Linked DNA regions of Homo sapiens: all the other regions are linked to region 6. The links are contacts of gene promoters, found by promoter capture Hi-C in blood cells and fetal thymus (Javierre and others, 2016). All regions are on one chromosome and are shown on one strand. The core of a region is centred on a gene start or on the middle of the fragment in contact, and the rest is flanking DNA. Distances in the headings are between cores, read along the strand shown. Region 1 overlaps NACA (nascent polypeptide associated complex subunit alpha). Region 2 has its middle 5.0 kb from the start of HSD17B6. Region 3 overlaps BAZ2A (bromodomain adjacent to zinc finger domain 2A). Region 4 has its middle 5.9 kb from the start of ATP5F1B. Region 5 overlaps PRIM1 (DNA primase subunit 1). Region 6 holds the start of NAB2 (NGFI-A binding protein 2).

Region 1 (3,829 bases), core at 745-3,244, 370 kb after region 6:
GGAAGCTCAAGGAATTGTTGATGGTGTCAAAGCAAGTATTTGAGTGCTTATTCCATTTGAGGTCCAGTCAGAAGAAAACATATTCCATGTTTTTAATTCTGATTCATTATGTTTGGTAGCGTTTTCCTGTAATCGTTAGACTTTGGCCTACCCACTCTCCAGGAAAAACTAGTTGAGCCACCTTGTCTTTTCCATGGTAGGATGCCATAAGAACTTCAGAATTACTGGTTGAGTGAATTTTGAATTTGAATTTTGGTACCACGGGCTTCCCCCCCGCCCCCCTTAACATTCCCTTCTAAGCATTGAGCATTTGTTGATCCAATTCTGTGTTACCTCCTGAATGCCAGAGATACTGTCTTACTGTCATGCCAAACATTGGTGTATTTTGACATAATGAAACACTTAAATTCCAAGTTAAGGAGTGGGGATCCAGTGTATTCTCGCCACTCCAATTGTCTTCTTTGGTTTGTTTTGTTTTGAGACGGAGTCTCACCCTGTCACCCAGGCTGGAGTGCATGCAGTAGCGCGATCTTGGCTCACTGCAACCTCCACCTCCTGGGTTCAAGCCATTCTCCTGCCTCTGCCTCCTGAGTAGCTGGTATTACAGGTGTACACCACCACGCCCAGCTAATTTTTGTATTTTTAGTAGAGACGGGGTTTCACCATGTTGGTCAGGTCGGTCTGGAACTCCTGACCTCGTGATCCGCCCTCCCAGGCATCCCGAAGTGCTGGGATTACAGGCATGAGCCACTGTTACAGGCTCTCCAATTCTCTTCTTCCAAAATAGCACCACAATCTGGTTTAACAAGTTAGGTTACAGTTTCATAATACAGTCCCTACCCTTGTGAGTAAGCTCTCTGCCTGGAGGTCTAATTCATGTCTAATTCATCTTGGATTGATGTCTGAAGAATTAACATCACCTAGGAAGGTTTATAGAGACTATTACAGTCCTTTTGTGGTTGGTTTTCTTGTTTGGGTTTTGTGAGTAAGTAAACTGGTAAGGTATAAAGAAGCTAAGTGACTTTAATACTTGATATTAAATTCTGAAGTGTTTCAACTTTAGGAAGAACTGAATTGTGCTGTGCACCTCCTTCCCAAAACTATTCTAACAGAGTCAGATGTTTCCTAGCCTAGTGGAAGCCTGAAAGTATAAAAGCCTGTGTTTTCTTATTCAGTTCAGATTCCCCATCATCGTCACTGCTCACTAACTTCTTTGTTCCAGTTTTCAGTATCTTTTCTGTTCATGATATTTGGGTGGACAGAGTAGCACAGCTGTTCTTCTCGTGGGAATTCTGTTGGCTGTGAGAAAGACTTGGGAATACAGTCCATTTCAAGAAGTAAGGGGAGGGCACAACTGGGAAAGGATAGAAAGCATGTTGTTCTCAACCTACCAAGAGTCTGTGCTCCCCATTTAGAGATAGGCTGCTCTTAGACTGTTCTCCTCACCCTAAAATAGTTGGTTTACTTTGGTAGAACTTGGGGAAGTGTGAGAAATTAGGAGGGGAATGTCTTCTCACTTGACCACTGAAAAATGTTTGGGGAAGGTTGTTGTTGCCTGTCACCTTTATCTAATCCTGCGTGGTGACTTAGACTGTCAGATTTTAAACTCCAGTGTTTCCTAGGAGGCATGTTGTACCAAGTTGGGCTGCATAACTCACCTTTTTTCTCCTCCCCCTCCCCCTTTCTTTATCTCCTTTTGCCTTTCTCCAGCTGTGCTACCTATGTCTTCAGCCTTGAGTGTCACTGCTGCCTTAGGGCAGCCTGGACCTACCCTCCCCCCTCCTTGCTCTCCTGCCCCACAACAGTGCCCTCTCTCAGCTGCTAACCAGGCTTCCCCATTCCCTTCCCCCTCTACTATTGCCTCGACCCCTTTAGAAGTTCCTTTTCCCCAGTCATCCTCTGGAACAGCCCTACCTTTGGGAACTGCCCCTGAAGCCCCAACCTTCCTACCAAACCTAATAGGGCCTCCCATCTCCCCAGCTGCCTTAGCTCTAGCCTCTCCCATGATAGCTCCAACTCTGAAAGGGACCCCTTCCTCTTCAGCTCCCTTAGCTCTGGTTGCCCTGGCTCCCCACTCAGTTCAGAAGAGTTCTGCTTTTCCACCTAACCTTCTTACTTCACCTCCTTCAGTGGCTGTAGCTGAGTCAGGGTCAGTGATAACTCTGTCAGCTCCCATTGCTCCCTCAGAACCAAAGACTAATCTTAATAAAGTTCCCTCTGAGGTAGTCCCTAATCCAAAAGGCACCCCCAGCCCTCCATGTATAGTCAGTACTGTTCCTTACCACTGTGTGACTCCCATGGCCTCTATTCAATCTGGAGTGGCCTCCCTTCCTCAGACAACACCCACAACTACCCTAGCCATCGCTTCCCCTCAAGTCAAAGATACCACCATTTCCTCAGTTCTGATTTCTCCACAAAACCCAGGAAGCCTCAGCCTGAAGGGGCCTGTTAGTCCACCTGCTGCCTTATCTCTTTCAACTCAGTCTCTTCCTGTGGTGACCTCTTCTCAAAAGACTGCGGGTCCCAACACCCCCCCAGATTTTCCCATTTCTCTGGGCTCTCATCTTGCACCTTTACATCAGAGTTCTTTTGGTTCTGTCCAACTTTTAGGTCAAACAGGTCCTAGTGCTTTGTCAGACCCTACAGTGAAGACCATTTCTGTAGATCATTCTTCCACAGGGGCCTCTTATCCTTCTCAGAGATCTGTAATTCCTCCCCTTCCTTCCAGAAATGAGGTAGTTCCTGCTACTGTGGCTGCCTTTCCAGTGGTGGCTCCATCTGTTGACAAAGGTCCCTCTACCATCTCTAGCATAACCTGCAGCCCTTCTGGCTCCTTAAATGTAGCTACCTCTTTTTCATTATCTCCTACAACCTCTCTCATTCTCAAAAGCTCTCCTAATGCCACTTATCATTATCCTTTAGTGGCCCAAATGCCCGTTTCTTCTGTTGGAACCACCCCACTTGTGGTGACTAACCCCTGTACAATTGCTGCAGCACCTACTACTACCTTTGAGGTAGCTACTTGTGTTTCTCCTCCAATGTCATCAGGTCCCATAAGTAACATAGAACCAACTTCCCCTGCTGCCTTGGTTATGGCACCTGTGGCTCCCAAAGAGCCTTCTACTCAAGTAGCAACCACTCTGAGGATACCAGTCTCTCCTCCTCTGCCAGACCCTGAAGACCTCAAAAATCTCCCCAGTTCAGTATTGGTTAAATTTCCAACACAAAAAGACCTCCAAACTGTACCTGCCTCTCTTGAAGGAGCCCCTTTCTCTCCAGCCCAAGCAGGACTCACCACCAAGAAAGACCCTACTGTATTACCGTTAGTCCAGGCAGCCCCTAAAAATTCCCCTTCTTTCCAAAGTACATCCTCTTCTCCAGAGATACCTCTTTCTCCTGAAGCCACCCTAGCAAAGAAAAGCCTTGGGGAGCCTCTCCCTATAGGTAAGCCAGCCAGCAGTATGACCTCCCCTCTGGGTGTTAACTCCTCGGCCTCTGTAATCAAGACAGATTCTTATGCAGGCCCAGACTCTGCTGGTCCGCTTCTCAAAAGTTCTCTCATTACCCCAACAGTGGCTGCATTTCCTTTGGAAAGTGCTGACCCTGCCGGGGTGGCTCCCACAACTGCCAAAGGTACCTCAACTTATACAACTACAGCCAGCCCTTTTCTAGAAGGAACTGTCTCTTTAGCTCCTAAAAACCACCCAGTTAAGGAAGGTACTCTTACTACTTTACCCTTGGTTCCTACAGCTTCAGAAAATTGCCCTGTGGCTCCATCCCCCCAGAATACCTGTGCTCCTCTGGCTACCTTAGTGCTGGCCCCTGAAAT
Region 2 (4,217 bases), core at 1,613-4,112, 330 kb after region 6:
AAAATTAGCCGGGTGTGGTGGCACATGCCCATAATCCCAGCTACTCGGGAGGCCGAGGTGGGAGGATCACCTGAGCCTGGGAAGGTTGAAGCTGCAGTGAGCCATGATCATGCCACTGCACTCCAGCTTGGATGACAGAGACCCTGTCTCATAAATAAACAAACAAACAAACAAAACACAACTCTGATTATGTTTCTACTCTGCTTAAAACCCTTCAATGAGCCAGGAATGGTAGCTCACATCTGTAATCCCAGCACTTTGGGAGGCCAAGGCAGGTGAATCAGTTGAGGTCAGGAGTTCGAGACCAGCCTGGCCAACATGGCAAAACCCCACCTCTACTACCAATACAAAAAAATTAGCTGGGAATGGTGGCACATAACTGTAATTCCAGCTACTAGGGAGGCTGATGCATGAGAATCGCTTGAACCCAAGGGTCATCGCTTGAGCTGAGATGGCGTCACTGCACTCCAGCCTGGGTGACAGAGTGACACTCTGAAAAAAAAAAAAAAAACCCTTCCATGGCTTCCCATTGTCTTCACACAAATCCAAATTCCTATGAAGGAACAAGGCTTAATGTTGTGCTTTAATGTGAATCTGCCAATCCTTTATTTCAAGCAGTCTGCAAGGAGAAAGCTAGAGCCAAAACATGTATAGCCTTATGGCTAACAAGAGAACCTACACAATATTTATATTGGCAGATTGCTTATCTAAAGTCTGGTAGGTTAATTTACAGTTTAGGTTTTAAATACTCAGTTTCCTATACCAAACGCACCAAATAGATTAAAGAGCAATTGCAACGTCCCAGAACACGTTTTATTGGCTTTGTGATCATCACGTGCTCTGTTAGAGGGAACATTCCTGTGAGATCAATCCAAAACTCTGGCATTTAAACAAATATGATGGAACTCTCTGCTACTTTTCAGTAGTTTATGATAACAAGAGACAGAGCTTATCATATTTAAACTGAGATGTGACTTTGGCCCCATTCTCCTTTTGTTTATTATGCTCCTGTGTCAATAGAACATATTTGAAACTGTCCTTATGAACCTTTGAAAATTAATCAGGAAAGCAGGGAGAGAAAGAAATGAAAACAAACCAAGCTTGCAACACATTCAGCATTAATCATTAGGTCAGCCGGCTCTCTGACCTGCTTTCTCATCGTTGTTTAGGCATATTGTCCTAGAATCACATAGATCAGACAGTATAGTTCCCCTTAACTGCTCTATTATAGATAACAACTTGAACATTATAAAATGTTGTTTCCATTTGAGATATCCTTTCAGGTCCTGCACACCAGTGAAACTAATGAGGTCAGCTGATCTGAAGGACCCCATCGACATCAGCAGTTCTGAAGGATCATACAAGGAGCTGACTCACTGAATGCAGTTTCCACATCCTGACGACTTCATCCCTTTGACCCCAACCACTCAATGACCCCAATTTTCCAGTCCCTCATTCTCCACAATCCCCTTAAAAACCCCAGCCCAGAACTCCTCAGGGAGATGGACTTGAAGATCTCCTCTCATCTCCTTGCTCAGCCGCCCTGCAATCATTAAACTCTTTCTCTGCTGCAAACCCTACTGTCTCAGTGTATTGGTATGTTGCTGTGCAGTGGGCATACAAACCTGTTGGTCCTGTAACATATTTTCTAATCTTCTCTTCTTTATTTTATTAACAAGGAAAATAACTAACATAGGAGTACTCCAAGTTTTCAAGCAACTTACTTACTTCAACAGGATTTTAACTCCCAAGGCTTCTTGTCAAATATTAATAGGATCAATAGTTTATTTTCATTTTAACCAAATAAAGTAGATGATGAATAATTTTTACTTCCACACTCCTTAACTTGGCAGGCAATGCTCTGACCATGGCTTACCTCTTAGCCCCATCTCTCACTATACCCTCCCTTGAAGTCTGGGCTCTGTCCATATGAAACTATTGGCAGCTTCCCAAAAGTGCCATTTATACTTTTGTGCCTGTGTTCCCTGTACTAATCTTATCCATGTCTTAAGAACATGGCAAAACAAATAGACAGTTGGGTTAAAAATGCACCTATAATACTTCATTACGCTTTTTTGGGGCGGGGGGACAGGGTCTTGCTCTATCACCAGGCTGGAGTACAGTGGCATAATCACAGCTCACTGCAGCCTCAACCTCCTGGGCTCAAGCAATCCACCTCAGCCTCCCTGGGACTACAGGCATGAGCAACCATGCCACACTAATTATTGTATTTTTTGTAGAGATGGGGTTTCGCCATGTTGGCCAGGCTGGTCTCAAACTTCTGAGCTCAAGTGATCCACCTGCCTCTGCCTATCAAAATGCTAGGATTACAGACATGAGCCACCATGCCCAGCTCATTCATTACACTTTTTTATTTGTGTCTATTGCCCCTAGTATGATATAGCTTTCTCAGAAGCAGAAATAATGTCATTAATTATTTTCCCCACAGTTCATCTCAGTGCCCAACACATATGTTCATTAACTATTTGTGGAATAAATGAATGAATTCATGAATGACTGAATCAACCATACCTTTACAGAATAGATCATCCTTTCAGATGCTAAAAACACCCAGAATAACAATAGGACTTAAACTAGACAGGCAATCAATGAGGCAAGTGTCGAAGTCTGCAAACAACATGGGGCAAGAAACTTGAGGCTGATAGATATACCACAAAAAAAGACTAAAAACGATGGTAGAGCCAGGTAGCATAAGGACTGAAGGAAAAAAGGGGTTTGCACCTATGTGTATGAAATCACAAAGGGAAACAAACTGAATGGTGATACTGCCTCCCAGTGGCATTTGAGATAAAGGCCTCTATGCCAGAGCACTTTTTTTTTTTTTTTTTTTTTTTTTGAAATGGAGTCTCACTCTGTCGCCAGTCTGCAGTACAGTGGCGCCATCTCAGCTCACTGCAACCTCCGACTCCCTGGTTCAAGCGATTCTCCTGCCTCAGCCTCCCGAGTAGCTGGGACTACAGGCACATGCCACCACGCCCGGCTAGTAATTTTTTTGTATTTTTAGTAGAGATGGGGTTTCACTATGCTGGCCAGGCTTGTTTCAAACTCCTGACCTCATTATCTGCCTGTCTCGGCCTCCCAAAGTGCTGGGATTACAGGCATGAGCCACCTGGCCTGGCCCGTTCCTCTGAATATACTTAATATACCCGAGGTGGGCTGATTGCTTGAGCCCAGAAGTTCGAGACCAGCCTGGACAACACGGTGAGATCCCATCTCTACAAAAAATAAAAATAACAATAAATTTAAAATTTAACCCTTTTCCCATTTGCCCCAAGAATACTTGCTGGCAGCACTTGTAGCTGCAGCATTTATCCAGAGATAACTTTGCCGTGAAATATCTTGCTTTTATTATTTTCATATTGCTCTAGTATTACTGACTTTGGAAACAAAAGACATCATTCTATTAACAGCATTCTGTTTTCAGTAGTGGTACTTCCACTTACAAAATACAGTAATTCTGATCATTAAAACTGTCAAATCCTAGAAAATGCTGAATTCCTATGTATGATGTTAACATCATTCTTTGATTAATCCACAATTCTAATTATTCCAATGACTTTAATGTTAGTTCTGTTTAGAAATAACTCCAAGAGGCCAGGCGCAGTGGCTCCCACCTGTAATCCCAGCACTTTGGGAGGATGAGGTGGGTGGGTCGCCTCAGGTCAGGAGTTCAAGACCAGACTGGCCAACATGGTGAAACCCCATCTCTACTAAAAATACACAAATTAGCCGGGCATGTGGGCAGGCACCTGTAATCCCAGCTACTCAGGAGGCTGAGGCAGGAGAATGGCTCGAGCCTGGGAGGCAGAGGGTGCAGTGAGCCGAGATTGCACCACTGCATTCCAGCCTGGGCGACTGAGCGGGACTCTACCTCAAAAGAAAGAAAGAGAGAGAAAGAGAGAGAGAGAGAGAGAAAGAAAAAGAAAGAGAAAGAAAGAAAGAGAGAGAGAGAGAGAAAGAACTCCAAGAACAGTTTTTATATTTTATTTTCACATTGGAAATCAGTCAGATTTGTTTCAGCCTCAAAGAGCATGCTTATGTAAAATTAAATGACTGCTGGCAGCGAGCTGCACTTTTTCCTTCCAAACAGGAAAAGCGTTAAAAAAAAAAAAAAAAAAAAAAAGAGGCTAGGCGTGGTGGCTCACGCCTGTAATCCCAGCACTTTGGGAGGCTGAGGCGGGTGGATCACAAGGTCA
Region 3 (3,981 bases), core at 1,362-3,861, 480 kb after region 6:
AGGCACTGATTTTGACTTTTGGTCTCTCCTGTGATTTCCTAGAACTGAAGATGTGTGGCTACAATGGCTCTGTCCCTTCTGTGGAATCGTTACACCAAGAGGTCTCAGTCCTGGTCCCTGACCCCACAGTGAGCTGTTTAGATGATCCTTCACATCTTCCTGATCAACTGGAAGACACTCCAATCCTCAGTGAAGACTCTCTGGAGCCCTTCAACTCTCTGGCACCAGGTAGGTTTGGAGGCTATGTCCCTTTAACTTATCCATGCAGAGTAGCCAAACTTTACCTGAAAGAGACAGTAAAATGGGAAAAGTATTAGGCAATCAGGGGCACTGGGGCTTCCAGGTAGGCCTAAGGCAGACCACAGTTACATGCCACAGGACTTGGTGCCCTAACTGAATTCTGAGCTGAATTGGTTCATGTCCCAGGTTCTTTCCCAGTATTCCTTTTGGCCAAGAGCTCTGGGCTGTAATAATTCACTGGGTAGGGACTTATTATCACACAGTTGATCTTTCTGGGTTCTGACAAACTAGGAAGAAAACATTTGTCAGTGAGCAGTTACCTTTTACTCCACTGAAGTACAAGAAAGACATATTTTATGATAAATCCTAGAATTTTGCATAGGTCTCTGGGTAGATAATACCACCAATGCCTTTCCTTTCATTTTCACCTTGTAGAGATGAGGTCTTGCTATGTTGTCCAGGCTGGTCTTGAACTCTGGCCTCAAGCAATTCTTCTGCCTCGGCCTCCCCTCAAACTTTTATGATCCCTATAATCTCATGACTACTCTTTCAGGGAGAAGGCTTTACTTGTTACCTAACTTAATATTAGGAAGAATCTTCACATTGTGGGAACTAGAATTGGATGTTTTCTGACCAGTGTTTCTTAAATCTTGCTTTCTGATTTTTTTCTCATTATCCTGCTCTGATTTTTCTACCCTTGTAAACAGAGCCAGTGAGTGGAGGACTATATGGTATTGATGACACGGAGCTGATGGGTGCAGAGGACAAGCTGCCTCTTGAGGACAGCCCTGTGATTTCTGCCCTTGATTGCCCTTCCCTCAATAATGCTACTGCCTTCAGTCTCCTGGCAGATGATAGTCAAACATCAACCTCTATCTTTGCCAGTCCCACCTCTCCACCTGTCCTAGGGGAGTCTGTCCTGCAAGGTAAGTGACGGTAGGTAGGACAAAGAAAGACCTTTACCTGAGAAAAGATGAGAGAATAAGTTTCATAGTTAGGGCCTTAAGAGTGGGAAATCTGGCTGGGCGCAGTGGCTCACGCCTGTAATCTCAGCACTTCGGGAGGCCGAGGCGGGTGGATCACCTGAGATCAGGAGTTTGAGACCACCTGGCCAACATGGTGAAACCCCGCCTCTACTAAAAATACAAAAATTAGCCAGGTGTGTTGGCACATGCCTGTAATCCCAGCTACCTGGGAGGCTGAGGCAGGAGAATCGCTTGGCCCCAGGAGGCAGAGGTTGCAGTGAGCCGAGATTGTGTCGTTGCACTCCAACCTGGGCAACAGAGCAAGACTCCATCTCAAAAAAAAAGTAGGAAAGCAAGAGCACCTTGCTGGGAGCTGAGGGGCTATGGGATAGTGTATGGTGGAACTAAAAGAGGTATAGGCTGCTATACTCCGACCTGTGCCCTCTGCTTTGAAGAACTTGTGAGACTTGGAATTTGTAGGGAGAAGGAGGCTAGAAGCTTTATTGGCACCAGGTAAAAGGTATTTCTTCACACAATGACATCTGTAGCAACTTTACCCTTTAATCCTCATGATTGGTTGGGAGAAAAAGCTACTTCTTTTTCCAACCCTAGGGAAGACCCCTTGAAGTAACCCTGTTTAGCTTGGTCCAGGGTTGACTGAGTAGATTCTCTTGTTTTATGTGATGCCTTTTTTTTTTTTAAAGCCTATCCTGTCCCTTTGGATTCTAGATAACAGCTTTGACCTGAATAATGGTAGTGACGCTGAACAGGAAGAAATGGAAACTCAATCTTCAGACTTCCCACCATCCCTGACCCAGCCAGCTCCTGATCAGTCATCCACTATTCAGCTACATCCAGCAACCTCACCAGCAGTCTCGCCAACAACCTCCCCAGCAGTCTCCCTAGTGGTTTCTCCAGCAGCCTCCCCAGAAATCTCTCCAGAAGTTTGTCCCGCAGCTTCTACAGTTGTCTCTCCAGCAGTCTTCTCAGTGGTCTCTCCAGCTTCCTCAGCAGTCCTCCCAGCAGTCTCCTTAGAAGTCCCGTTGACGGCTTCAGTGACATCCCCAAAAGCCTCTCCCGTAACTTCCCCAGCAGCTGCCTTTCCAACAGCCTCCCCAGCAAATAAGGATGTCAGCAGCTTTCTAGAAACCACTGCTGACGTGGAAGAGATCACTGGAGAAGGACTCACTGCTTCTGGTAGTGGTGAGTATCCAGATTCTATTCTATCCCTGTCTGGTTCCAAGAAACTTTTCTGTCCCATGTTGTAGTTAGCCTTTCCCTATTGGCCTATTGTTTAAATATTTTGCTTGAACTCTTAACTTGGGTATCCCTTCCTCCCAAGGTGATGTCATGAGGAGACGTATTGCTACCCCAGAAGAAGTTCGTCTTCCCCTCCAACATGGGTAAATGCTCTAGTTTGCTACATTTATTGACCTTGACAAGTTTAATGCACAACTCTAGAAAGAAGGGAATGCCTCTTTTCCTCTGAGGTGGGGGAGGAATGGGCCAGACAAGAGTAGATTACAGGACAGTTATCTGCAGTGATAATGTTTCTTGGCATGAGATTCCTAGGTTTTCCTTCTTCTCTCAAGGTCTGTCTTCCATCACCTATTCTTTTTTCATCTTGTAGTGACTCAATTTTGCCCAAGGAGCTCCAGCTATTATCTTTTCCAAACCCTAGGGCTCACATCCAAACCAGCTGGCTTGTCCTATTTCTGTGGACAAGGGATAGTAATGAATGAGGAGTGACTTAGTACTAATGAATTGAGGTGGTTTTGTTGTTTTAATGCTCTTAGGAGAGGTAAGGGCAGGAACAGTACATGACCAAAATGAACAAACTAGCTGACACCAGGGCCTTGTGGAAATAACTGCCTTCCTGGATCTTCCCCACCCCTGCCCCTCAAGGCTACTTGTGGTCACCAAGTCTGAGTACTGCTTAAAATTTTGAGAGAAAGATTAGAGTTAGTCTTAGAACTAACTCTGACTAACTTTGTGTTCTGCTCAGAACACAGAGTTCCTAACTAAACCCTGGCATATTGAGTCTTTTCATGGAATCAGCAGCAAATTTATTTTTCTGCTTGCCTCCCTGCCCTTTGTCTTCTGTCTTTATTCCCCTTAGGTCTTTATCCTCTTTACTGGAAATCCAGTAACTGCCCTGAATGGCTCAGGGAGGGGTTTCTGGCAGCTTATCTCACTGATTTTGTAAAGGAGGGATGGAGATCTCTCTGAGCTTGTGCAGTTTGGTGTAGTGCTTTTCTCCTAAGGGCCTTGATGTATTTGCTGGAGCTCAAGTCAGCCTTCTAGCCAAGCTTATCTCTCTTGGTGCTTTTGCATCTGCATGCAGTTCTAGAGATACAAATGTGGGGAGGGCCATCTGCTCAGAGGGCTTCGCGCTTAGGTGGCATGGGAGTGGGTAGGGGTGTGACCTGGCGGCAGGGCCCATGTGCTTCTCTGGCAGGTGGCGGAGAGAGGTGCGCATCAAGAAGGGCAGCCACCGATGGCAGGGGGAGACCTGGTATTATGGCCCCTGTGGGAAGAGGATGAAGCAATTTCCAGAAGTGATCAAGGTAATGTAGCTTTTTTTAAAGGACTGCTTTCTTGGGCTCAGTGGACTCCTTTCCACTGCCCAAGACTCCGTTCTTGGGCTCAGTGACAACAGGCTGGCATTGTCTGCTCTGGGCCTGTTCTGCTTATGCCTTTGCTGGCCAAAGACATGGTAGGATCCAACTTTATTAATGTTACTTTACTTCTTCCTCTTAGTACCTGAGCCGCAACG
Region 4 (3,771 bases), core at 232-2,731, 440 kb after region 6:
TCCAGATTTCATATTGTTCAAACACACATGCTCTACAAACAATCTGTGCAGATAATGCAATTATCACAGGATCCTGAGGCAACATACATCCTCAGCTTATGAAGATGACGGGATTAAGAGATTAAAGACAGGCATAGGAAATTATAAGAGTATTGATTGGGGAAGTGATAAATGTACATGAAATCTTCACAATTTCTGTTCAGAGATTGCAGTAAAAACAGGCGTAAGAAATTATAAAAGTATTAATTTGGGGAACTAATAAATGTCCATGAAATCTTCACAATTTATGTTCTGCTGTGGCTTCAGCCGGTCCCTCCGTTTGGGGTCCCTGACTTCCCGCAACAATAGGGTTTCCATTTTTATGAGAATCTAATGCCATCACTGATCTGACAGGAGGCAGAATTCAGGTGGTAACGTGAGCAGTGGGGAGAAGCTGTAAATACAGATGAAGCTTTGGTCACTCGACCACAACTCTCCTCCTGCTGTGTGGCCTGGTTCCTAACAGGCCATGGACGGGTACTGGTCTGTGGCCCAGGCACTGGGGAACCCTGCATTATATGTATATGAAACAGAAAGTGAGTGGAATGTATGCAAAAAGTTTTTTCAATGGTCATTTTTGGGAAGGACAGTGGAAGTTTTGGAAGTAATGGTGAAAGAACTCATCCTGTACACCTAGAATATGTTCATATGTTACTTGTGTAATAAATAGTGCTTCCAAATTGTGACCTAAGAAAGGAATATTGGATTTCTGAAAGAGAATATTTCAACTTGGGAATGGCTGTGGAAGTAGGCTGCTTATGTGAAATGGGAATGTGAAAAACTAATTGGAATTGAAGTGGTTGAGGATCTCTGAAGCCAGGGCATTGAATGGGTTCTTTTCGTGGAATTTGAAATAATCCGGGATGATTGTCAAGAAATGTAGTAGAGACCAAAAAAACACATTCCACCAATTACCAGAGTACTGGAAGGATGTGGGGGTATGACCAATGTGGATAGCAGTAATGAAAGGATTTGGTGGAAAATGTAATTTTCACTTCAAGATGAATTTTAAATTACAGAGCACAGTCATTTGGAATTAACTTCAGATAAGAAACCAGATTGGGTGGGTCTGTGTGGTTCCTATTCCCCTGTGAAAAATAACTTGTACTTTTTTTTTTTTTTTCCATTCAGGTTCCATTTATTTTTGACATTTTTACATAACCATCCTTGCAGGGGTAACTCCTGCATCACTCTAGAACTTCAGGTTCCGTCCCTCTCCCTCTCCCTCTCCCCCTCCCCTCCCCCTCCCCTCCCCCTCCCCCTCCCCCTCCCCTTCCCTCTCTCCATGGTCTCCCTCTGAAGCCGAGCCGAGGTTGGACTGCACTGCCGCCATCTCGGCTCACTGCAACCTCCCTGCCCGACTCTCCTGCCTCAGCCTGCCGATCGCCCGGGACTGCAGGCGCGTGCCGCCACGCCTGACTGGTCTTTGCTGGAGTGCAGTGGCATGATCTGGGCTCGCTACAGCCTCCACCTCCCAGCCTCCTGCCCTGGCCTCCCAAAGTGCCGAGATTGCAGCCTCTGCCCGGCTGCCACCCCATCTGGGAAGCGAGGAGCGTCTCTGCCTGGCCGCCCATCATCTGGGATGCGAGGAGCCCCTCTGCCCTGCCGCCCAGCCTGGGAAGTGAGGAGCGCCTCTTCCCGGCCGCCATCCCATCTGGGAAGTGACGAGCGTCTCTGCCTGGCCGCCCATCGTCTGAGATGTGGGGAGCGCCTCTGCCCCGCCGCCCCGTCTGGGATGTGAGGAGCGCCTCCGCCCGGCCACGACCCCGTCTGGGAACTGAGGAGTGTCTCTGCCTGACCGCCACCCCGTCTGGGAGGTGAGGAGCGTCTCTGCCCGGCCGCCCCGTCTAAGAAGTGAGGAGCCCCTCCGCCCGGCAGCTGCCCCGTCTGGGAAATGAGGAGCGTCTCCACCTGGCAGCCGCCCCGTCTGGGAGGGAGGTGGGGGGCAGCCCCCGCCCAGCCAGCCGCCCCGTCCGGGAGGGAGGTGGGGGGCAGCCCCCGCCCGGCCAGCCACCCCGACTTGTACTTTATATAAAATATCACTTGGACAATCTGGGTCTCAATCAAGAAATACGTAGGAAAGGCCGGCCGCCGTGGCTCACGCCTGTAATCCCAGCACTTTGGGAGGCCGACATGGGCGGATCACGAGGTCAGGAGATCGAGACCATCCTGGCTAACACAGTGAAACCCTGTCTCTACTAAAAAAAATACAAAAAAATTAGCCGGGCGTGGTGGCGGGTGCCTGTAGTCCCAGCGACTCGGGAGGCTGAGGCAGGAGAATGGCGTGAACCCGGAGGCGGAGCTTGCAGTGAGCTGAGATCGTGCCACTGCACTCCAGCCCGGGCAACATAGCAAGACTCCATCTCAAAAAAAAATATGTAGGACAAAAACATGTTACAACTCTAAAATAGATTACATTATTTATTCAGAATGCTGGTTAAGGCATATCTCAATCTGAGCTAATCAAGCTTATTCTATTTTAGACATTATTACTTATATTAATAAATTTAACTGATTTCAGAGGAGAGGGAGAGGAGGTTGTTAAAGGCCAACATTGATAGCAACAGAGTGAGAAAAATTAAGAGTTCACAAACTTCAGCTTAATGGTCTCATGGAGAAATAGCTCTTTTTTACTTTTAACTTTTTTTTTTTTGAGATGGAGTCTCCCTCTGTCGCCCAGGCTGGAGTGCAGTGGCGTGATCTTGGCTCACAGCAAGCTCCGCCTCCAGGGTTCACGCCATTCTCCTGCCTCAGCCTCCCGAGTAGCTGGGATTACAGGCGCCCACCACCACACCTGGCTAATTTTTTGTATTTTTAGTAGAGACGGGGTTTCACCGCGTAAGCCAGGATGGTCTCAATCTCCTGACCTCATGACCCACCTGCCTTTGCCTCCCAAAGTGCTGGGATTACAGGCGTGAGCCACCATGCCCGGCCCTTTTTTTTTTTTTTTTTTTTTTTAATAGAGACGGGGTCTCCCTACATTGCTCAGGTTGGTCTCAAACTCCTGGGCTCAAGGAATCCTCCCATCTTGGGGTCCCAAAGTGCTGAGATTACAGGCGTGAGCCATGGAGCCCCACCTCATTAACACTGAAAGCATTTAGCATTGCAATGTGATAAAAAGGTTTGTTGAATGAATAACCCTAATACCCAAGAAAAGTTAAATTACTTGGTAATTTGATAAGAGGACAAATGTGTGATACATTTCAAAAAGTGATGATCTTCGGTTACCTGGTATGAATGTTTTTCTTAGAAACTTGGATTAAGAAATGTCACCAGGCGCGGTGGCTCACGCCTGTAATCCCAGCACTTTGGGAGGCCTAGGCGGGCGGATCACGAGGTCAGGAGATCGAGACCATCGTGGCTAATATGGTGAAACCTCGTCTCTACTAAAAATACAAAAAAAAAATTAGCTGGGTGTGTGGTGGCAGGCGCCTGTAGTCCCAGCTACTCAGGAGGCTGAGGCAGGAAAATGGCATGAACCCGCAAGGCAGAGCTTGCAGTGAGCCGAGATCATGCCACTGCACTCCAGCCTGGGCAACAGAGCGAGACTCTGACTCAAAAAAAAAAAAAAGAAATGTCAAAGTAGGCCAGGAGCAATGGCTCATGCCTGTAATCCCAGCACTTTGGGAGGCCGAGGTGGGTGGATCACGAGGTCAGGAGTTCAAGACCAGCCTGGCCAACATGGTGAAACCCCATCTCTCCTAAAAATACAAAATATTAGCCAGGTGTGGT
Region 5 (3,756 bases), core at 79-2,578, 350 kb after region 6:
AACAGGTACTACACAAGGAAACTAAGGAAAACTAAAAGAAAAATGAGTTGCTATTGGCTTTAGTAAGCATGGCATTAGGTCTGAATATATATAATGTCTATGATTTAAAGGTAGAAGAATTGCTCTGTCACCCAATACCTAAGTCAGTTAAGTAGCTACCAGATGAGTTTCTACTATGTAACTGTTTTTCAGTTGGGTTTCTGAGGTTCCATATTAGATTTGGAGAGGACCATCAAAATCTTAGGACAACAGCTCTCATTGTACAGATGAGAAAACAGTGGCCCAAGATGTAACCCATCCAAGGTCATAAAAAAAAAATTGTGTGTGACTGTATGTGGTAGCTTGCTCCTGTAATCCCAGCACTTGAGGAGGGCAAGGTGGGCAAATCACTTGAGCCCCAGAGTCTAACACCAGCCTAGGCCACATGTCTAAACACCCTTTGTACAAAAAATACAAAAATTAGCTAGACGTGGTGGTGCATGCCTGTAGTTCCAGCTACTCAAGAGGCTGAGGCAGGAGGATCACTTGAGCCTGGGAAGTTGAGGCTGCAGTGAGCTGTGATGGTGCCACTGCACTCCAGCCTGGGCAACAGAGTGAGACCCTGTCTCAAAAAAAAGAAAAAAAGAAAGAAATGAAATGAACTCTACTCCTAGCACTGACAAAAACAAAAAAAAATTTTTTTCGAGAAAGAGTCTCACTCTGTCACCCAGGCTGGAGTGCACTGGTGCAATCTCGGCTCACCGATCGGCTCAAGCGATCCTTCTGCCTCACCCTCCTGAGTAGCTGGTACTACAGGCATGTGCTACCACAGCCAGCTAATATTTTGTAGACAGGGTTTTGCCATGTTGCCCAGGTTGGTCTTGAACTCTTGAGCTCAAGCAATTCACCTGCCCCAGTCTCCCAAAGTGCTGGGATTACAGACAAGAGCCACTGCGCCCAGCCTCATTACGTCACTTTTGAGATGTGTTAAATTCTATATGGTATCCTAGGGGGGTATTATAAAAGAGTAGAGGAATTTCTATTTTATTTCCTAAATGCTTTTTAAAGGTGTCTGACATGTGGGTATCTGTATTGATCTCAAATAAACCAAGCCAATGTAAATATTATAGTTTCATCTATTTTGTTCTATTTTCAGGACTCACTAACTCTGAGATTGTTCTGAACTTAAATATGGAATATTTAAATATACTTTATTTCTAAATATAGAAATAAAAGTAGGGATAAGAGCAACTGGGAAATAGCTCAACAGTCTTCACATTTGCTTATTGGTTTTTGTTTTTGTTTTTTTTCTTTCCTTTTTTTTCGAGACAGAGTCCCACTCTGTCACCCAGGCTGGAGTACAGTGGCGCGATCTTGGCTCACTGCAGCCTCTGCCTTCCAGGTTCAAGCAATTCTCTGCCTCACCCTCCCAAGTAGCTGGGATTACAGGTACCCGCCACCACACCCAGCTAATTTTTGTATTTTTAGTAGAGACGGGGTTTCACCATCTTGGCCAGGCTGGTCTTGAACTCCTGACCTTGTGATCCACCCTCCTCAGCCTCCCAGAGTGCTGGGATTACAGGCGTGAGCCACTGCACCTGGCTGGTTTTTTAAAGAGAAATAAAAGGCATGCTGGACATGGTCATTCACACCTGTAATCCCAGCAACTCAGGAGGCTGAGGCAAGAGGATTGTTTGAGGCCAGGAGTTCTGGGCAACATAGTGAGACCCCAACTCAACAAAAATTGAAAAACTGGCCAGGCCAGGAGCAGTAGCTCACGTCTATAATCCTAGCACTTTGGGAGACAACTGAGGTGGGAGGATCACTTGAGCCCAGGACATCAAGCCTGCAGTGAGCTATGACCATGCTACTGTATGTACTCTAGCATGGGTGACAAAGTGAGGCATTAACTCTAAAAAAGAGTAAGGGCACAGCTAATGTGAAAGTAATTTATATTTCTAAATACTCTTCTTAACAGATAAGTTTAACCCTTTGTCTAAGCCTTAAATAAAAATTTTAACCAAAAATAACCTGTAGGAGATGACTATAATGATTTATAGTCCACAATCATCAGTTTATAACTTTTGTGTCTTACAGGTCGCATATCTGTGCCTATTGATTTGCAGAAAGTGGACCAGTTTGATCCATTTACTGTTCCGACCATAAGGTATGTTTCAGATCATTGATCACTCCTTGTTTGTAATTGTTGTTATGAATTTTAAATAAATTGAATTAGCCTCCTTAGAGAAGTAGTTGCATGGGAATGGTATATTTGGTTATGGAAACCAAATAAGGTTCAAAGGTTAGATGACGATGCCCTAATAGAACAATACAAGATTTTCACCTGCTGTTATGTAAGAAAAAGATTTTAAGGTCAAGTAAATTTAGGAAATTCTGACTTAAACAGATTAAAAGTATCTTTTACTACAGTATTTCACAGTCTTTCATATGATAATATGCATGAAAAACTCCAAGAAGAGATCATGGTGTTTAGAATATCCCAAATTTAGCTGGCCGCATAATTTTTTTACAGTAAATTTTATGGGATTCACATGCTATTATACACTGGATAATGCTGATCAGAAACCAACATTAAACTTCTCTTGTTCGTGGTGAGGCGCGGTGGCTCATGCCTGTAATCCCAACACTTTGGGAGGGCAAAGCGCGTGGATCACAAGGTCAAGAGATCGAGACCATCCTGGCCAACATGGTGAAACCCTGTCTCTACTAAAAATACAAAAATTAGCTGCGCTTGGTGGCATATGCCTGTAGTCCCAGCTACTTGGGAGGCTGAGGCAGAAGAATCACTTGAACCTGGGAGGCGGAGGTTGCAGTGAGCCAAGATCGCACCACCACACTCCGGCCTGGCAACAGAGCAAGACTCCGTCTCAAAAACAAAAACAAAAACAAAATTCTCTTGTTCTGTTACTTGCAGCTTCATCTGCCGTGAATTGGATGCCATTTCCACTAATGAAGAGGAAAAAGAGGAGAATGAAGCTGAATCTGATGTCAAACATAGAACCAGAGGTAAGGTAATATTTTGAAGCTTCACTTTAAATACAGGGTTTTTATATAGATATCCATCTGTCACTCCAGTAATTAATTCTCTGATTCAACTAGAATGGATCAGCATTTGTCCTGGAACTGCATACAATGTTTGTGTCCTTTCTTCAACAGCAGCCCAAGTGGTGTTATTGAATCCAGTCTGATTCAACACATATTTCCTAAGTAACTTTTAATGCTAGGATCTATACTGTAAGATTAAACTATCAATAAGTATGAATAATCAGTCTCTGAGATTCACCACCTATTTATTTAACAACTATTATATATGCAGTACTTTTTTTCTTTGTTTCTGATGCATATAGGTGGGTTTTATGGTAAACATATGTCTAAACTGTTTACCAAGTTGTATATTCAAGAATTTGAAGAAGCTGGCTGGGCGCAGTGGCTCACGCCTGTAATCCCGGCTCTTTGGGAGGCCGAGGCAGGCAAATCACTTGAGGTCAGGAGTTCAAGACCAGCCTGGCCAACATGGTGAAACCCCAACTCTGCTAAATATACAAAAATCAACCAGGCATGGTGGAGGGCACCTGTAATCCCAGCTACTCGGGAAGCTGAGTCAGGAGAATCGCTTGAACCCAGGAGGCAGGGGTTGCAGTGAGCCAAGATTGTGCCACTGCACTCCAGCCTGGGCGGCAGAGGGAGACTGTCTCAAATAAACAAACAAAAAAAAAGAATTTGAAGAAGCTAAGGAATTTCTAAATCTTCCTGCTA
Region 6 (3,927 bases), core at 1,014-3,513:
AGCCCTGGATTGGTGGCCCACTCTCTCAGTGCCTTCTGCAGGCGCCGGACATGGAGGGGCTTGGTGGCCATGCCCACAAGTGCCATGATCTCCAGAAACTCCTCCTCACCCGCCTCACACAGCTGCTGCACGTCGTCCCCTCCCTGCTGGATGAAGGTCTCATAGTAGGAAAGGAGGTTGGCGCGCTGCAGGACCCGGTACAGCTGCAGCTCCCCCAGCGTCCGAGGCAGTGCCATGGCTCGGGCACTGGGCCTGAGAAGGAGGGGCACAAGAGAGAGGCAGTCGGTGCAAGTCCCCCTACTGGGTACCAACCCACACTAACAATTGTTCCCTCTTTCCTGCCTGCTTTTCTTCCCCTCCCTCATTTGGATGCTATCCTGCCCAGTGCCCAGGTCTGAGTACAGACTCTCAGAATCAGGCACTGCTCAGAGGCATGGACAAGCCAGTGCCGTCCTAGACTGGCCCGAAGCCCCAAAAGTCAGTGGCCTGTGTCTGTAGGAGTCGAAGCGTCTTACAACCTTATCTTCAGCTTTTATCTTTTTGGTCTGGGGCAAGAAGAACTTGAGCGCTGAGGCTGACCAGCACCGACCTGGGATGGCTGGACCTCCCTCTCCCCCAAAACACAATCCTCACCTTCCCCTCTAAACACTCAGCAGTCTCAACACTGAAGTGAAGTCACCCATACTAAAGTGAATGTAGGAGCCCAGTCTCCCCCACAGTGGACGCTGCTGGCCAGCTTCATTCCCTGTGAAGGGGCCACAGCCCCAGGTGGCTAAAAGGGAGGGTGTGGCACCTTCCCTGGCTTTCCCACTCAGTGAGCCAGGTGGTGCCTTACTCTTCTCCGCTCAGCTTTTCCCAGGGGTTAAGCATTTATTTATTTATTTATTTATTTATTTATTTGAGACGGAGTCTCGCTCTGTCACCCAGGCTGGAGTGCAGTGGCGCTGTCACTGCAACCTCCGCCTCCCGGGTTCAAGCGATTCTCCTGCCTCAGCCTCCTGAGTAGCTGAGATTACAGGCGCCCGCCACCATGCCCGGCTAATTTTTGTATTTTTAGTAGAAACGGGGTTTCACCATGTTGGTCAGGCTGGGCTCGAATTCCTGACCTCGTGATCCACCCGCCTCAGCCTCCCAAAGTGCTGGGATTACAGGCCTGAGCCACCGGGCCCGCCCGGCCTGGTTAAGCATTCTTAACGCACGCTTCCTCTCTCCCCTCAGAACCTCTCCACCCTTCCAGGCTGCCCAGTGCTCCTCAGTGGCCCCTCTCCTAGCAGTGACACTCCCCACTTCCTCGGTCAGCCTTTTCCTTCAGCTCAGGGGCCGTGGCAGGGGGAGGGGCGCAATTGTTCTGCTCCGGGGCCGTTCCGCCCACACACACTCCCACAGTGGTAGCGTCTGTAGGCGAAAACCGCCCAGGGGCTCCCGCCTACTCTCCTCTCCCATATTTTCCACCCGCATCTTCAAGTGGAGTGGGGGAGCGGCTCAAGGCCTCTTGATGAAGGGGCTGCACACTGAAACTCCCCTCCCCGCTCTGTGAATAAAGGGACAGATATGGGAAGGAACGCCTAAGGCCTCCCTGCCTCCCTCGTCACCCCCCCTTTCCCCCGCTGATGCTCCTTTAACTCAAAGGCACCGGGGGCCCGCGCGCTCCGTGCCAACGAGGGACTGAGGCAACTGAGCGTCCCCCCACCTTCCGCACTGATGCCAGCTCGAGCTCCAGGGCATCCCCTGGTGCTTGGAGGCTCCCACATTCTTTGCAGGGGGCTCTTAGGCCAGATGGAGCCCACAGAGTAAACCAGGAATGGAGATTTGGGTACTACTCTTTCATATCCAGCTTCATCAGATGCTTGCCTGCTCCCAGGGCCCCCTAATTCGAAGACGCACCCCCTTTTCCATCAGTCTCCACCCCCCACCCCCGTCCTGCTTCCCCACGTCCTCCCCTCGACCTCCGCCCTCTGGACCCCATTCCCAAGTCCAGCTCCACCCATCTCCACTCCCCGCTGCCTCCCTTTGCCCACTAACTTGAGTCTGGGCTGCAGGGTCCGGCGGGCGCTGTCCCCTCCGCCCGGCGGCTGCTCGGCTGTGGGGGAAGGCGCTCTGTGCATGGACGGCCGGAGATCACCCGGGCTGCCCTTCTCGGTGCCCGGCGCTCGGCGCCTGCTGCGTGCTGCCCTCTTCCCCGCGCACGATGCCGTGTCCACCGCTGTCCAGGCTCTGTCCCTCCCTCCACGTCTTCTCTCTCCGAGCCTCCGCGCCTCTGTCTGTGCCTCTGCCCCCCCACCCTCCCCGGCTGCGCTTGCCGCCTCTCCGCGCCTCCGCCCCCGCAGGACGCACAGGGAGCGAGGCCCGGAGCTGCGCTGGCTGCCGGGCTGGCGGGCGGAGGGCGTGGGCAGAGCCGGGGGCGGGGGTGGGGGCGGGGGCCGGGGAGGCGGGCGCTGGGGCCTCTCGGCCGCGGAGACGCCGCGGCTTAGAGACTGGGAGAGGCGGAGACGGGGGGGGAGGGGGTGTGGAGCAGGAGGCGGGGGCGGGGATTCAGAGCCGGGGCGCCGAATTGGGGACCGAGGTGACCGAGGCCCGGCTGTGCAGGGCGGGCTTGGGGACCCAGCGGGCGGGGCGAGGTCGTTCTGTGCCGCCCACGCCGGATGCACAGCCGGCCCTCTTGGCGCCCACGTACCCACGTGAGCGCCCCGCCGGCGACATTCCTTCTCTCCCCCACCCCTCCGAGCTGAGAGAGGAGTTTCACAACCACGCACAAGTACACAAAGACACAGAAGCGCACGGACGTGCACACGCGCCTAAACAACTACGGGGACGCCCGTTGCCCATACTCAGGCCTTGTGGTGCTGGACGTGTGAATGTTAGCAGTGAGCCGGGAAAAGTTAGCGAAGGCTGGGCTGTGCGGCTTCTCCTGTGCGTGCATCTGACTCCCGTATAGTGTGCACTTAAGGCGGGCCTGAGAGCGTGGGGCTCTGCAGGGATCTCCTAGATATCCCCGCGCCCCTCCTCAGCCCCAATGGAATAATCTGAGGGGGTCGCTCTCAGAAACCCAGGCCTCCATGCTAGCCTGGAAAGTTTGGGAAACAGGAATGGGAGGGTTATGCTGCACGCCACCACTTAGGTGCGCGTGTTGATTAGACGCGTCGGCTTTTGTCAGCGCGTAGGTCAGGCAGGGATTCCTCCACTTGTCCTCTGTTTGCTGAGGATGAGGCCCTGCCTGGGAATTTTGTGTGACAAAGACGATACCCTTCCTGGGGCCGTCTATTAGGGACCTCGCCCGAGAGTCTAGTGGAAGATGAGTAAGAGGTCGGGAGCCTACGACGTGACTTCCTGCGGCGGAGCTGGAAGGAGGAGCGCCTTGAAGGAGCTTAGCCCCCGCCTCTGCAACCCACCACCGTCTCCCCCTTTGGTTTCTCCTAGCCCCATCTGGTTCGCATTGCACTCCCGCCCACGGCTGGGAGGGCTGTTGGGGGAGGCGGGGGCTCTAAGGGCCCGGCCCATAGACTCTAAGCCCCAGGGAAAGGAGGGGGGGTGGGGGCCGGGGAAAGCGAGCGGACTGGCCACAGGTGAGGTTTCCCCTAGTCCGGAATCTCAGCCCCGCCCCGCCTCTCTGTCCGCACTTCTGAGGGGCTGGGGTGGGGCATGGCGGGGCGTGGAGGCCGTGGACCGGGGCTGGTTTTACAATGTGGCCTAGCGAGGAGACCTTTCCGCCTTGTGGGGTCCGGGGAGAAGGAGCGCGTTGTTGGTGGGAGGATTTCAGTTGCTCAGGTCCTCTTCTCCAACCTATTAAGCGCCAAACACAGTGGGGGTGGTGGGAACGAGCAGAGTCCCGTCTCCCAGTCCCCCGCCCCGCAACTGGAGGGTGCGGCTAGACGGGCTCCCCTGGGGACGCTCCCGACCCCGTACGGGGTGTGGGCGACCCCTCCCCCC

The links. Contacts are between HindIII fragments. The CHiCAGO score rates a contact against its expected background, and 5 or more counts as called.
Region 1: a fragment that was not itself captured here is called in contact with the fragment with the promoter of NAB2 in region 6 in 2 of 17 cell types (erythroblasts and M0 macrophages); the score reaches 7.7 in erythroblasts.
Region 2: a contact is called between a fragment that was not itself captured here and the fragment with the promoter of NAB2 in region 6, in 11 of 17 cell types (erythroblasts, total CD4 T cells, naive B cells and 8 more). The highest score is 9.5, in erythroblasts.
Region 3: a fragment that was not itself captured here is called in contact with the fragment with the promoter of NAB2 in region 6 in 1 of 17 cell types (monocytes); the score reaches 5.1 in monocytes.
Region 4: a contact is called between a fragment that was not itself captured here and the fragment with the promoter of NAB2 in region 6, in 1 of 17 cell types (M0 macrophages). The highest score is 5.4, in M0 macrophages.
Region 5: a fragment that was not itself captured here is called in contact with the fragment with the promoter of NAB2 in region 6 in 1 of 17 cell types (endothelial precursors); the score reaches 5.1 in endothelial precursors.

The regions. Positions count from the first base shown.
Region 1 is chr12:56,719,341-56,723,169 of GRCh38, reverse strand. It overlaps NACA (nascent polypeptide associated complex subunit alpha), which reads left to right. Exons shown (of 9, transcript NM_001365896.1): 3 at 1,711-3,829. Among named protein-coding and RNA genes, the nearest start is that of NACA, 4.0 kb to the left of the region's middle. RefSeq lists an enhancer at 2,235-2,354. The HindIII fragment of the contact is 4,291 bases long and covers 1-3,829 here.
Region 2 is chr12:56,756,260-56,760,476 of GRCh38, reverse strand. No RefSeq gene overlaps it. Among named protein-coding and RNA genes, the nearest start is that of HSD17B6, 5.0 kb to the left of the region's middle. The HindIII fragment of the contact is 3,519 bases long and covers 1,103-4,217 here.
Region 3 is chr12:56,610,200-56,614,180 of GRCh38, reverse strand. It overlaps BAZ2A (bromodomain adjacent to zinc finger domain 2A), which reads left to right. Exons shown (of 29, transcript NM_001300905.2): 4 at 43-228; 5 at 948-1,166; 6 at 1,935-2,408; 7 at 2,548-2,608; 8 at 3,664-3,772; 9 at 3,966-3,981. Among named protein-coding and RNA genes, the nearest start is that of BAZ2A, 18 kb to the left of the region's middle. The HindIII fragment of the contact is 1,811 bases long and covers 1,706-3,516 here.
Region 4 is chr12:56,649,979-56,653,749 of GRCh38, reverse strand. No RefSeq gene overlaps it. Among named protein-coding and RNA genes, the nearest start is that of ATP5F1B, 5.9 kb to the right of the region's middle. The HindIII fragment of the contact is 2,056 bases long and covers 454-2,509 here.
Region 5 is chr12:56,737,684-56,741,439 of GRCh38, reverse strand. PRIM1 (DNA primase subunit 1) reads left to right here. Exons shown (of 13, transcript NM_000946.3): 9 at 1-5; 10 at 2,077-2,146; 11 at 2,915-3,006. Among named protein-coding and RNA genes, the nearest start is that of PRIM1, 13 kb to the left of the region's middle. The HindIII fragment of the contact is 3,398 bases long and covers 1-3,027 here.
Region 6 is chr12:57,087,450-57,091,376 of GRCh38, reverse strand. NAB2 (NGFI-A binding protein 2) reads right to left here and starts at 2,263. Exons shown (of 7, transcript NM_005967.4): 1 at 2,023-2,263; 2 at 1-252. The coding sequence starts at 2,105. It also overlaps a transcript of NEMP1 not described here. RefSeq lists silencers at 2,052-2,671, 3,672-3,731, 3,912-3,927 and an enhancer at 2,942-2,991. The HindIII fragment of the contact is 12,439 bases long and covers 1-3,927 here.